Linked DNA regions of Homo sapiens: all the other regions are linked to region 2. Evidence: promoter capture Hi-C in 16 types of primary human blood cells and fetal thymus (Javierre and others, 2016). All regions are on one chromosome and are shown on one strand. Each heading gives the region's core, a stretch centred on a gene start or on the middle of the fragment in contact. The rest is flanking DNA. Distances are from core to core; before and after follow the strand shown. Region 1 overlaps RNGTT (RNA guanylyltransferase and 5'-phosphatase). Region 2 holds the start of C6orf163 (chromosome 6 open reading frame 163). Region 3 overlaps RNGTT (RNA guanylyltransferase and 5'-phosphatase). Region 4 overlaps RNGTT (RNA guanylyltransferase and 5'-phosphatase).

Region 1 (3,802 bases), core at 323-2,822, 1.5 Mb after region 2:
ATGTAAACAACATTTTAATTTTTATAAAGTAATCCATCTTCATGAAAAGAAAAGATCAAAAGAATTTTCCCAAAAGTTTTATTTTACATTTGTCCCTGACTCGCTGATTACTTTCAGTTTTCTTTTGTATAAAGCATGCATTCTAGAAAAATCAACTATAATTATTTCAAACAATTTTTCACAGATTCACAAAGAGGATAAAGTTTTTTCCCCTTTTTTATCCAAGCCAGCATTTGCCACTTCCATAATCACACATAATGAATAAGAGTATGTGAGCAAATAATGAGTTAAGAAAGTATCACAGAATCGTAAAAAAAAAAAATATGAAAATCCAGTTAACACCTCATCTAACAGATAAGCTCTACTGCTGAGATGGGTCAAAGCAAATGTTCTTCCATCTGGTCAGCAGCACTACTCAATACTAAATATCAATATTCAATACTAAATATATCTTACTTATTTCCTATATAAAATTTAAAAATCCATCTATGAACACCCAATATCACACTCTTAAAATCAAAACAAGCAGTCATATTTCATATACAGTATCAAGTAATGCTCTTTATTAGCTCTTTAGTATCTCTTACTTAGTTGTCTGGTACTATACATAGTTTTGTTATATCTCTTACTACATCTTAAATTGTACTTCATTTTCCTGCTGAGAGTAGGAATTGTACTTTTACTTTCCTCTAGTGTCTTGTATTGTCTTTGAGACCTTCTAAAGCTTACAGTAGCTTAACAGTTATCTATTAAAGCAGTAAATATTGTCTGCAAATATATTTATTATCCCATTAAGTGAAAGGAGCAATGCAATTTGAATTACCATCACAAAGCAATTTGAAAAAAAAATAATAGAGTTTTTCTATTATTTATTTATAAGAGAACAGCCTATATCATATCCCATTATATGGAGGATCAGAAAGTAAGGAAAGAAAACAGCAGGTAAGAAGATGAAGGTATAATGTCTCGAGAAACCAAACATCCAACTCTTAATATTGATTATCCCAAGGGGTGGGATAAAAGTTCTCACAGGGAGAACTTTTTAATTTCTTTTTAATGTTTTATGAGGAAGACAGAAGACATTATCAGAAAAAATATATTTTAAGACAGAAAAATTCATCTATTAGCATAAAACAGTAAAAATAACTATCAAAATATTGAAAAAATAATGAGGACATGACCTGGCAAAAAGGATTCTGGGCTCTGGGGCCAGATCACTTGCATTCAAATCTCAGTCCTGCTACTTACAATAACTGTGTCTGTGACCTTGAAAAAGCTACTTATTCACAATGCTATCTTACAGCGTTGTGAGTATTAAATGAGATAAATGTTCTATGTAAAGTACTCAGAACAATGCCTAATACACATTAAGTGTTCAACAAGTATTACTTGTTATAACTGTTGCTATAGCCAAAATACAGAATGAACTTGTGCAACCACACTAGTATTCAAAAAAAACTGCTAATCAAAGCAATTTTAAAATTCATTTTCCTTTAATTTTTACATCAATAAAATCTTTTAAGAAAAAAATTCATTTTCCAATTGTCAACTTGGCTACATTACTTATATTAAGTGAAACTACCCCAAATTGCCAAGGATGTACACTCAAGCACTGCTGTTCGGAGTGTATCACTACAACCTCTAGCAAGGTATATCAAGGACTTCAAAGGTTTCCATACTATATCTAAGTAATACTATTTTTGTCAAAATTTATGCAAAGATGGGTATAAGAAGATCAGTACAGTTATTTATAGCAACAAAAAAACTGGAGTCTAAATGCCCCTATAATCGAGGGTGAACTATTTTTTCTTGGCAGCAATTAAGTCATTTTAAAAATACATGTTATAACAATGAAATATACTCATGTTAAGATAAAAAGCAGCATACAAAAATAATCATGCCTGAGTATTGTGGCTCAGGCCTGTAATCCCAACACTTTGGGAGGCCAAGGCAGGCAGATCACTTTAGCCCAGGAGTTTGAGACCAGCCTGGACAACACGGGGAAACCCTATCTCAACAACAAAAAAAAGACAAAAATTAGTTGGGTGTGGCGGCACGCGCCTATAGTCCCAGCTACTCTGGAGGCTGAGGTGGGAGGTCGAGGCTGCAGTGAGGCATGAGTGTGCCACTCCACTCCAGCCTAGGCAAAACAGTGAGACCCTGTCTCAAAAAACAATCATCATCATCATCATATAGTTTAGTTCTAATTACCTGCTAAGCCTATCATAGCTAGCACAATCTCTGGCATATGGTAAATGTTCAATAAATATTTGTTAACTACATGAATGAACAAAGAGACAAATTCAATCTCTTTATCCTGTATTCCTTGTTTCTCATTTGTTTGGGTCCAGTAGCCCAGCTCTATATAGGGGAAAAAATGTTTGAAAATATTAACGAAAAATTCATTTGTTTTAATCTTTCAAAGCTTCACATGTTTGCTGCCCCCAGAACCTGGCCAACTGAAAATTCTGAGTTAGGGTTGCACCTATGTTTGCAATCAAAGTTTTATCTGTATCTGCTCAGCTCTAAGAGTTCTCTAGCAGATTTTGGTAATAGGTAATAAATTTGGTTGGTTTTTATTTTTAAATACCATTTCAAAGACAGTATCTCTATTAACTAGTAGTAACTCTCATACTTAGGATTTGATTAAAGAAACTGCTATTTAAGGGACCTTTTTATCCTTTAGTAAATCCTAAAGATGTGACTACTAACCAATGGGTATTTCAAAGATTTGGTTTTAAAATGTTAGATTGTTTTGCCTTTGCTTAATTTTCTTCTTGTGCAATAACTATACCACACCCTAAAAGAATTCTGAGTGAACTCTGGGAAATCAATGTTGGTTCTCATGTAATAATGGTTTTCAAAACAGTCTTCAGTTATAACAACAATAACTAATATGCATTGAGTGCTGTATAATAAGCATTTTATGTGGGTCTCCACCAACTAACAGAGAAATTCTCAGATATGTTCTTAACTCAATAGCTGGCTAAATACTACTTTGAATTGGGTCACTGATTTTTAAATTTTGTTCCATGAGGCACTACAGATAGCGGCTCCCAAATCAGGTTAAAAATCACAAGTAATCGGGGTGCTTTTCAAAAATGCATTTTCTCAGAACCAATCCAGGCTTAATGAATTTGAATCTCTGAATTTTTTTTTAATAAAAGTTTCCTATGATGGTAGCGCAACTGGAAATGCTGCCCTAAAAAGTTCCATGGTAACCTCAGACGCCACACCAGAATGCAACCCCATATGCTTTCCTCAATTTGCAGCAACCAAAGCATTACTGCTTTTATCTGTTTCATATAGGGGGACTTAAAGAAAGATTTAGGCTTGGGGAGGGAGTCAAAGAGTCCTTCTTTTTAAACCAATTTACCACAAGATACCATCAAACGTAGCTTCAGATCAATAAACAGTGTTTCTGAGTTGACCTCTAAATATTCTCTGGTAGTCTCACTTCCCCGTGATAAAAAAGAAACACAGGAGCTTTATTGTGTCCCATCCAGTTGCAAGGAAACTGGCCTGGATCCCTAACTATAGTTCTGATGAAACTACTATTAAAAACAGGGCTGGGGTCTTTAAATGACGAGATCTGGCTTACATTCTCTCTAAGAGTTTTGGTTATCACCAGAGGTATGACACTAAACATTAACTGAGTCCTAAAATTAGTATAGTTAGTATAATTTCCATTATTATGAGGAAAAACTACCTTAAACCTAATTTCATTTGTTTATTTATTTATTTATTTATTTATTTATTTATTTTTGAGACAGGATCTTTCTCCGTAGCCCAGGCTGAAGTG
Region 2 (3,756 bases), core at 467-2,966:
GAAGTTCAGGACTTTCAGTTTTAAAACAGGGACAGTCCCAGGCAAATCAAGGCCAGTTAGTTATCCTTCCATCTGGGCAAGAATTTCTAGTAACAGATAGGAAAGTTATTGGCACAAGTAGCCTCAGTTCTCAATCCAGATAATTAACTGTGTGGATGCAGTAATCCTCATTCTTCATACTAATTCATCTCTTTGTTTTTAATTCCTCTCCAAGTCCCAGTTAACCCTTTTCTTGAAGTCAAATCTGGCACAATTTGATAGTTACTTAAGGTCTTCAGCCAGTTATCAGGCCGTATGTGTTAATATAAATTATAGAGTAACTTGTGGTACACTTAGCTCAGGGCCCTATGGGAGTCCTGTTGTTGAAATTAATTTCACTGATGGCACTCACTTATTATAAAATAGTCCTGCCAAGTAGATGCAGCATATGACATTGTCAGGCAATTTTATAAATTCAGTTACTTGGTACAATCAGTTGCACAGATTTTTGCGATAGGTGGAATTTCTATGGCTGTTTATCTAAAATTATAGGAACAAATTAGTTAACCATGTGATTTTTAAAACCAGGCTTAGTAATTTTGAATGCTGCCTTAATGAAAGTAATTTCTTCTTCAAGATACCATGATATTTCCCAGTTTTATTACCATGGCACCAACACATCATGTTTATTAAAAACCTAAAAGAAATTAAGCTACCTCCATTGCTGGCCTTAAAAGAAATTAATTCTTTAAAAACTAATTTAAAACAAAGTGTGGTAGGCTGACTAATGCTCTCCTTCCCTGCAAAAATGTCCAGATCCTAATCTCTGGAACCTGTAAATATGGGACTTTACGGATATGGGTAAGTTTAGGATTTTGAGATGGGGAGATTATCCTGGATTATCTAGATGGGGCTGGTATAATCACCAAGGTCTTTAAAGCACGGCAGAAGATCAGAGGAAGAGACAATGTCACTATGGAAGCACTGGGGGAAAAGGCTATATGATGCAAGGCCATGACCCCAAGGAATATGGATGGCCTTTAGAAGCTGGAAAAGGCAAGCAAACACATTCTCCTCTGAAGCCTGCAGAAGGAACCAGCCCTTCTAACAACTTGATTTTAGCCCCTAAGACTCATTTTAGACTTCTGATCTCCAGAAATGCAAGAGGATAAATTTGTGTTACATTTAAACTATGAAGTTTGTGTAGTTTGTCACAGTGGTGCTATGGTTTGAATATTTGTCCCCTGCAAAACTCATGTTGAACTTTAATCCCCAACGTGGTAGTATTGAGAAGTGGGGCCTTTAAGGGGTGAGTGAATTCATTCATGGGTTAAGGGATTGATGGATTATCATGGGAGGAGAACTGGTGGTTTTATAAGAAGAGGAAGAGAGGCCTGAGCTAGCATGTGAGCTCAGCCCCTGGCCATGTCATACCCTATACCACCTCAGGAATCTTCAGTGAGTTCCCACCACCAAGAAGATTCTTACCTGATGCAACTCCTCCACCTTGGACTTCTCAGCCTCCATAAACTGTAAGAAATAATTTCATTTTCTTTATAAGCTATCCAGTTTCAGGTATTCTATTATAAGCAACAGAAAACAGAGTAAGACAGCAGCAATAGGAAACTAATATAGAAAGTATCAGGAAAATGAATGGCTGTATCATGCTCCCTTTTGTCATTATTTGAAGTTGCTTTTATGAGCAAAGCTTGTCTTACCTAGCAACAGTTGCCAAGTAAGTTAACAACTTAATGCTAGAGTCTGGGAAGGAGCAACTACTTAAATCTTCCCAAATCTGGTGCCCATACCTTCTATGGCAGGGGCTTTTAGCACCATTCTTTAACGTTAGACACATAACCACAGCCTAATCACTTGAACCATTTAATCCTTACCAGCCTCTAGCATTATCCTAAAACCCTGAACCTCTTCCAGCTTTCTTAAACTTTCAGCTTTTCTTGAAACGACTTTTTCTGATTCTAAGATTATTTTAACTGTAAGTAGGAGAAGACATCTGAAATTTAACTATGATCAGAAATTCAGATTACAAAAACTTTGTTTGCTGTGCTGTTTGTAATAAAATAATTCCACCAGCCCCTTTTGGAAAAACCTTCAAACGGATCCATGAATACAAGCCACTTAAGACACGCTTTTACACTCACAAAGACATACTAGGTAAGTGACTTTATCGTTTTCCTTTGTTCTAATGCTTCATAGCCTTATGTGTCATTCTTTCTGTTACATAGACTTTTATCAGCTTTTTTCTCTTCAGAGTTGCTTGTCCCTACAGGGATATTTGAGGAGAATATGGGTTGGAATACAGCTTCTCCACTTACAGTTGTATGTATTGGGCAGGGTATTTAGCCTCTCAATCTGTTTCCTTATGTGGAAATAAATATACTAATACCTATCTTACAGGTTGTTATGAGACTTTAATGAAGTATTTGTATCTATTATAAATCCTGGCACATAATAGTAAATGTGAGTTCATTTTGCCCTTGGCCATACTTGAGCACCTTTCAGTATGTGTAGGAGAGGAAATATTATCTCTAAATAACACCCTAATTGGATGGGCACAGTGGCTCACACCTGTAATCCCAGCACTTTGGGTGGTCGAGGTGGGCAGATCACTTGAGGCCAAGAGTTCAAGACCAGCCTGGCCAACATGGCGAAACCCCGTCTCTACTAAAAAAATTTAAGCAGGCATGGTGGCATGCGCCTGTAATCCCAGCTACTCGGGAGGCTGAGGTAAGAAAATTGCTTGAACCCAGGAGGTGGAGGTTGCAGTGAGCTGAGATCGTGCTACTGCACTCTAGCCTGGGTGACAGAGCGAGACTCTGCCTCAAAAAAAAAAAAAAAAAAAAAAAATTTTAAAGTACCCTAATAAATGGGTAAAAGAAACTATATAACCTTTAAATAGTAGCTGGTAGCATAAAAGTAGATACATATAGATAACATGAGGACGTTTACTGTACATACGTATGTATATATAATAAGCAAATCAAATTGTACTATAGGTTTCCATCTCTCTTTTATCCCCGTAAGAGTTTTCAGTCTGACCTTGAGCCTTGTAGGTATTTTCCTAAGAACTCTCACAATACTTCTCTGATCCTCTCTTCCTTTAAAATGGTAAACTAAGGGTGATTTCATTTCACTCCTGATATTTGAAAATATAAGAAGCTGGAGAGCAGAGGTGTTTGGAAAAAAAAACTAAAATGTAGGGGGAGATCAAATTGGAATCATCTTCTAAAAACATCAATTCCAAAATTGTTTCTTAGCATTTAGTAAGTGCTTAGTATGAATGATTCATTATGATCTCTAAAGTGACTTTTCATACCCAGGACAGTGTATCTCCATTCTTAGATATACCTTAATGATTGATTCCTTATGCCTTATGGAATATCTAACCCAAACCTTAAGTGGATAAGTTAAATCTATTGTTAGAAATTAATCTTTTCTATTCAGTGACCTTTGTCATTGAACTGTTTTAAGTTAAAAAAGAAAGAAAGTTGAAATTGTCTGTTCTTTATAAGCATTTTGAAATGTCCGTAGAAGAGCTAGTGAGTATTTCATAGGACGATAGTTCTCAATCCTGGCAGTGCACTATATAGAACTTTGAAAAAAAATATTAATACAGATATCCAAACACAGACCCACTGGATTTAATACTAATCTAACACAGAGCCACTAAATTAGGACCTCTACGGTCAGGACTAAGCATGTGTATTTTTTCCTTCACGTTTAAATAACCTTTTTTATTTCAAGATAGTTTAAGACTCA
Region 3 (3,714 bases), core at 560-3,059, 1.5 Mb after region 2:
GAGAAGAAAGGTAAAAGGGATTTCCTGGATGAAATAGTGAAAAGAAACTCTAAGAAGAAAAGGCTATGCAGCAGGACTAAAGAATGGAAGGCTTCAGAAAGAATGCCTTCAAATGAAAAATGGACCTTATATATTTGACTGCATTGATAAAAAGTAAACAGTTCTTTTGGAGAGTTTAAAGAAAGAAATATTAATAATTATAATAACCAAAAATATTCCTAATGCTAGATGACAAGACTTTTCTAAAAAAAGAAAATACAATTGTATACTATTTGACCCAGATAGGAACAATATTTATGTCACCATAAAAATATAAAAATTGAATATTAATTTGACCAAATATGTGATGTAATTACAATAGAATGACAGAAGGAGAAAGGGGTGTGGAGGGGGTTAGTGGAATTAGAGGGCTCAATCCTATTCTTCCACAGTACAAAGTAAGCAGATTATGTATAAAATACAAAACCAAAAAAGAACAGCATAGACTGTGTAGAACTGTAGAAGCAAAAGCCAAAAAAAAAAAAAAAAAAAAGAGGAAAATAATTGCCTCCTAGGAGTAGTACTCAGAGTGCAGAAAAAGGTAAGAGACTGTTTGGTAAGAGACTGTTCTATTTTTCAGCACAAATCACTCATTTAATTGGTTTTTTTAAATCATGGATAGGCATTACCATGGATTATGTGCAACTTACATAATTTTTTCAACAATAAAAAATATTACCTTCATTATTCTGAATATAAAAAATGAGAAAAATTGGCCGGGTACAGTGGCTCATACCTGTAATCCCAGCACTTTGCGAGGCTGAGGCAGGCGGATTGCTTGAGCTCAGGAGCTTTAGACCAGCCTCGGCAACAAGGCAAAACCCCGTATCTACGAAAAATACAAAAATTAGCAAGGCGTGGTGGTGCGCGCCTATAGTCCCAGCTACTTGGGGACCTGAAGTGCGAGGATTGCTTGAACCCAGGAGGTCGAGGCTGCAGTAAGCCATGTTTGTGCCACTGCACACCAGCCTGGGCAACAAAGTGAGACCCTGTCTCAAAAAAAAAAAAAGAGAGAAAAATGAACTGTAAGAAATAAGGTGGCAGAAATCCTCAAGAAGCAATTATACCTAGATCCAAAAGTATGCTTAAAAAATTATATATATCATGATCAAGTAGCATTTATCCCAGGAATGCAAGGATGGGTCAACATGAGAAAAATCAGTGTAATTTACTACATAAATGGTGTAAAAATGAAAATGACATGATAACCTTAGTAGATACCGAAGAGGCATTACTGCCTTAAAATTAATGCTTTAAAAGGTGTTAAAGCCCAAAACCTGTTTATGATTTTAAAAAGAATTATTGGAAGAACAGAATCAGAAATTTCTTAACACAATAAAGGATATCTAACAGAAATCTACCACAAACATACTTAATGGAGAAAATTTAGTTACATTCCCTTTGAGGTTGAGAAGAAGGTATAAATGTCTTCTCCCTTATCTAACTAGAACTAATACTTAATTCAATACTAGAGGTCCTGGTCAATGTGTAAAATTAGACAATGATGAGAACTAACAGAATTCAACAGGATTGTTGAATCAATAAAATAAATCAATAATGTGGCAGTGTACTAGAAGTAGCAATAAAAAAAGACACAATTTACCACAAAAGCAGAAAATGACAAATATTTAGAAGTTACCATAACAATAATAAAAAACTTAAACTCAGTTACAGAACAGAAAAAGACCTGAAAAAAAAAAGCCATAGCATTCATTGAGAAAGTGATTTAACATTGCAAACACATCAATTTTCTCCACGTTAATCTAAATTCAAAGATGTTCCAATTAAACTCCTAACAAAAATTTCTGGGTAGCATGACAAATTGATTCTGAAACTTTCACGTTAAACCAATTGTCAACAAATATTTAAGGTAATGCTGGCGAACAGGGAGACTTGACTTAATACCAGATATCAATTACAAAGTCATTGTAATAAAAAGTGTGGTTACGGCCCGGCGCGGTGGCTCACACCTGTAATCCCAGCACTTTGGGAGGCCAAGGTAGGCGGATCACCTGAGATCAGGAGTTCAATACCAGCCTGGCTAACATGGTGAAACTCCGTTTCTACTAAAAATACAAAAAATTAGCCGGGCATGGTGGTGCGCACCTGCAATCCCAGCTACTCAGGAGGCTGAGGCAGGAGAATCCCTTGAGCCCAGAAGGCAGAGGTTGCAGTGAGCCAACATTGCGCCATTGCACTTCAGCTTGGGCAACAAGAGCAAAACTCCATCTCAAAAAAAAAAAAAAAAAAAAAAAGTATGGTTACTAGAAAGGGAACGGAATGACAAATCAACTGCCTATACTAGACATCCAAGAAAGAGACTCACTTATTTGTCAGGCCATTTTTCCTACATATGCCATATATGTACAGATCTGAACCATGAGTTTCACACACTGAAATTTTCTGAATTTATTGTTATATTTAGACTTTGCTTCTTTCAGTCTAGGGAGACTGGAATATATTAGAACTAAAAGATTCAACTTTAATTTTCCTAAAATAGTATTTTCTTCCATTTCCGTCCCTAACCTCTAGTGCTCCTCCATGTCCTCCTCCCTCTCCTCCTCCCTTAACCACAGAAGATATTTCTGTTCTTTGTTTGGCAAGGGGGGCTAGAAGACAGACAGATGCCAATCACATATCACATTGTCTCTAAATTTGCATTTTAGCAGAGATTTATTACACACGTAAAGATATAATGCTTTACATGCATAGGTTGAATATGCCTTCTCTGAAATGCTTAGGACCAGAAGTGGTTTGGATTCTGATTTTTTTCAGATTGGGGAATATCTGCATTATATATACTTAACAGTTGAGCATCCCTAATACAAAAATCCAAAATGCTCCAACGAGCATTTCCTTTGAGCATCATGCTGGTGCTCAAAACATTATAAATTTTATAGCATATCAGTCTTTGAATTAGAGATACTCAACCTGTACAGTATTTAATACACTGTGTTCAAATTATTAGTTCCCTTTCTTTGACCCCAGGCACCCAGTCTGATGTCTCCATATATAAATTCTCAACTAGCTTATACTCTAATTACTAAAAGAAGAGTTGGTGAAGAAAAAAAGCAGCATATGATGAGGTGGTTGCACATGAAATAAACTCTTTCCTATAGAGTAAGTAGCTCTCATACTTGAACATGCATTAGAATCACTTGGAGAACTTGTCAAAACACAAACCGCTAAACTCCATCCCCAGAGTTTCTACTCAATAGGTGTGGGGCTGAGCTGCATCTGTGAAACTTCCTGGGTGGTGCTAATCCTCCTCTACAGGCCACATTTTGAAAAACACCGTCCTACAGAACATGGGTTATCAAGTAGGGCCAATTATGTTCTCTGAGGAAACTGGGCAATGTCAGACTATATTTTTGGTTGTCACAAATGGGAATAGGGAGCATGCTCCTGGCATCTATACTCCTGGCATCTAGTGAGTAGAGACCACAGATGCTGCTAAACATCCTACCATGCACAAGACAGCTCCCACAGCAAAGAATTATCTGGCCCAACACATCAGTGGTTGAGAATGAGAAAACCTGCTATAGAGTAAAATACAACTTACTTCAAATATATGATTCGACCATTAAGTTGGTAAAAGTTCTTCAGTGCATTTCAAAAATTTAACATGGAAAAAATATTCAAAAGTTTTATTCTTTCTCAAGTAGTGACAAAGTA
Region 4 (3,747 bases), core at 1,150-3,649, 1.5 Mb after region 2:
ATGCAAAAAAATATGGATTACAAAAGAAAAAAATAAAATGTTGCTGAGGAAGAATAAAATTTCTACTAATATCTTGACCAGCCTGGGCAACATAAGGAGACTTCATCCTTACAAAAAATTTAAAAAATAGCCAGGCAGGGTGGCACATTCCCATAATCCCAGCTACTCAGGAGGCTAAGCTACTATTCAGGAGACTGAGGTGGGAGGATTACTCGAGCCCAGGAGTTCAAGGCTGCAGTGAGCCTTGATCGTGCTAAGGCACTGCCGCCTGGGTGACAGAGCAAGATCCTGTCTCAAATTAAAAAAATCTTAAAACTTAGAAATATAAAATTTGAAATTAAGCTTTGTTGTAATAATGCAACAACCTTGCGAGTATATAAAGAGAATAAGGCAAATTATTCAAAGGAGAATACAGAATGAATCAGAGAGAGTTCATCATTTTTAGATTACAAACTGGCAATTTATCTATTAACCTCAACATGTCCAATATCATTAAAAAACAAGGCAGTGGGCAGCAGACATACCAAAAACCATATCATTAAGAGAAAAACACTTTCAAACTTAACATCTAGTTATAGATTTATGTTAAACTAGCTAAGCTCTGAAACCAAAAATTTAGCAGAATGAGAGATAACTTGTGCTATACAGCTTAGAACACTAGCAAAACCAAAAATATATAATTTTTGAAACATTTATTTTGCTATTCACATTAGAAATTCACACTCTCAAGAGTGTAAACTTTTCTAACAATAAAACAATATTCTTCAAGCATTAGGGTTATTTGTGTAATTTTTTTAGAAGTCTAACTTACCGAGTACCATCTGCTTTCCAGCTTACTTTGTATGGCTTCAGGTCTAAAAGTTTAATATTTTGCTTGTCCATGGAAACAGGCTGTGCTCCAGGGAATCCAGACCTTAAAGAAGAACACAGTATTACTATCGTGGCTGGTATCCATACAAAGCAATACATGTCTTAAACCAATCTCAAATGAATCACACATTTATCACAATGTTCTCCCTATGATGAGATTAATGTCAGCTGGAATAACATCCGCTTTCACAAAAATACTAATAAAAGATTATCATTTTCTTGACATTTTAGAATGCAAGTTAACAGAGTTCTAAATTACCACTGCTATGGTATAATCACTGAGCTAATTTTAAAATATTAGTATATATGATCTAAATAGTAAAGCAGGTATGTTTACAAGTCTTGTACTTCAGGAAGAAGTTTAAATCTTGGCTTAATTACTTTACATGATATTCTAGACCCCATATTTCCCCAACGTGAGACTGCCAACTTGACATAACTGCAAGGTTGGCAACTTTCTCCTCAAAAGATACCCAGAAGTGACAAAACAGGAGAAATATGGGTCAAGATTAAGGCTTAACACAACATTAAAACCAAGGGTGTAGGTCAAGATTAAGGTTTAACACAACATTAAAACCGATCTTATTTCTTCATTGTTTTCATATTTTAGTTAAAACTACTTCTAGATGATTTATCTAGTATTTATGTAACAGTAATAAAAGTTCTTTTCATTAGGAATTTATATTAGGAATTAACAATAATCCTTTTTCCTTACATTCAACTGTATTACAGTTCTCTGCCACAGATACCAATGATCAGCAGAAATGACCACAGGCCAAGACCTGAGAGCAACAGATAAGAGCAATGTATGCTCTCCTGAATCCACTACGAAATGTCTGAAAGATATTTTCAAGTCATGGCATTCACTGCTTATATTTAAAGCTGATTTTCCTAGACTTCTGATTACAGAAAAACTGGAAAATGAGGCAGATCCAAATTTCACCTCTTCCCTCTTATCAAATTGAGAGACTAGCTCAAACATTAATCAGTAGCAGTAGAGTCAAAGACACGAAACAAATACTAGACAGTGAAAACAAGAATTTTCTATTACTTTAGGAAAATATGTGAGTCATCTAATTTTGACTCAACTGTCTGGTTATTGCATTGATTGTCTTGAACGAAATCTGACACCTTTAAAGTATTCTATTGCAAACATACTAACTTCAAGGAGCCAAGAAGATATGTCAATGCTTGTATTAAGTGTTGTAAAATAAGAGCAAATTTTATTTAAAAATTTAAAAATATTTATTACCCTTCCCAGCCACAGAATTGATGACACTTCTGCTGTACCTCTCCTAACTTTGGTTGTGTTGTTACTTGAGTTACACCTTTAACAGTAACACCTTCCAAGAAAATAGCGCCCTTTAAAAAAAAAATAAGAAAAATAAGGGAAAGAAAAATATTTTATTAGAGTTCAAATTCATTTACAAAGAAGAGACTGAGAGATAAATTAGTTTGTTCTCACAAATCTTAGCAAGTCAATATATCTAACAGAAACGGTCTGCTGTATAAACTCCCCTAAGATTGTACACTAGTTTTCCTAAATCCAGCACATGGTTTTCTTCAATATACGTATGTACTCTATAGGCACTTCTCAAATCATAACAGTAATAATAATTTATCTACCATTTATTGAGATCCAAGCAGAATGTCTGGCATCTTGCAAACATTCTCTCTAATCCTTACAACACTGAAAAAATAGACTGTACTGTATTTATTTCAAAGATGAGTAAATAAGGCACAAAGATTTTATGTAAATCAAGTGGTAAAAGACAGAATTTGAACAGGCCTACACTATACCAACCACCAATGGAGAGAAGGGGAAAGGAGCTGTGTTACTATGAATGAAGTATGGACTTTAAGGGGATAAACACCAAAACCTCTATCTTTGTAAACCAGAGTAAGAGTGTAGGCAAAGTGGCTAAGCCACAGTCATTGGATATATTAACATACTAATAGAACAAAATATTACTCATCATGGAATTTTTAATCTAAATTTTTTAACTCAGAACTACATATTTTGAAATATCACAGCGAAGTAAAGCAGACAGAGAATATCAAACAAATAAGGAACCCTTCTGGAAATTTTTAAACCTAAAAAAAATAGTCTAGATGTATGCTACAGTTCTTTTAAGGTCCATAAAGGGACTGGCATCAGTCTTAAGAAAAATCTATAAAACAATTCTAGCTGTTAATGTAATTAGGCAATAAAAAAGTTAGTCTACAAGCTACAACGTTCAACCTTCTGGCAAAGACCTGGCAATCTGAGCCACTTGAGAAAAGAAAAAAAGAACAATTAATACTTCATCCACATACATTCTTGTCAAATCTGGAAGAATCCTGAGTCCTTCCAGCAGACACTAGTCCTACTTTTTGTCCCTAATTTTGAAGCACTTTTTGTACTTATCTGTCTTCTACTTTGCTTTCCTTAAATAACCAAAATTTAGGAATTTCATAAGCCCAAGGATCAAAGAGTACCATCCCTCTACTATTATACCATTATTTCTCTGTACTAGCCAATGGCATTTCTGTTTAAAACCATTTTTATCATTAAGTACAACAGCTAAAGGAAAAAAAGAGTATTTTTAAAAGAAAGCTCAACCAGATAGATGAGGTTTGTAACATATTTACTTATTGAGTGCTCAGATAATTTCAATATCCTTAAAAAATTGTTTCTTATGCTAATTAAAAAAGAACACTTCTTTTTAGAGAGTTCAATATTAAGCATCCTAATTCTGATGGTATTAACAGCATGAGATGTTCTTTTTAAGTTTTACACAAAGAAAGTCTCTAGCTTCATTTATCAACGTGGATTTCCTATGCAAAGTTAAGAAATTTACATTAACTTCTGAAATGGGCAAAATAAAAGCAAAGGCC

What was found. The method cuts DNA at HindIII sites, captures the fragments that hold promoters and counts their contacts. A CHiCAGO score of 5 or more calls a contact.
Region 1: a fragment that was not itself captured here is called in contact with the fragment with the promoter of C6orf163 in region 2 in 1 of 17 cell types (total B cells); the score reaches 5.9 in total B cells.
Region 3: a contact is called between a fragment that was not itself captured here and the fragment with the promoter of C6orf163 in region 2, in 2 of 17 cell types (monocytes and naive B cells). The highest score is 5.2, in monocytes.
Region 4: a contact is called between a fragment that was not itself captured here and the fragment with the promoter of C6orf163 in region 2, in 1 of 17 cell types (naive B cells). The highest score is 6.1, in naive B cells.

The regions. Positions count from the first base shown.
Region 1 is chr6:88,874,348-88,878,149 of GRCh38, forward strand. The region is part of intron 8 of RNGTT (RNA guanylyltransferase and 5'-phosphatase); the gene reads right to left. Among named protein-coding and RNA genes, the nearest start is that of RNGTT, 87 kb to the right of the region's middle. The HindIII fragment of the contact is 1,701 bases long and covers 723-2,423 here.
Region 2 is chr6:87,343,097-87,346,852 of GRCh38, forward strand. C6orf163 (chromosome 6 open reading frame 163) reads left to right here and starts at 1,717. Exons shown (of 5, transcript NM_001010868.3): 1 at 1,717-2,151. The coding sequence starts at 2,004. The HindIII fragment of the contact is 2,547 bases long and covers 1,686-3,756 here.
Region 3 is chr6:88,797,430-88,801,143 of GRCh38, forward strand. All of the region lies in intron 12 of RNGTT (RNA guanylyltransferase and 5'-phosphatase), which reads right to left. Among named protein-coding and RNA genes, the nearest start is that of RNGTT, 160 kb to the right of the region's middle. The HindIII fragment of the contact is 4,929 bases long and covers 1-3,714 here.
Region 4 is chr6:88,889,684-88,893,430 of GRCh38, forward strand. RNGTT (RNA guanylyltransferase and 5'-phosphatase) reads right to left here. Exons shown (of 16, transcript NM_003800.5): 7 at 2,123-2,232; 8 at 812-913. Among named protein-coding and RNA genes, the nearest start is that of RNGTT, 72 kb to the right of the region's middle. The HindIII fragment of the contact is 4,119 bases long and covers 341-3,747 here.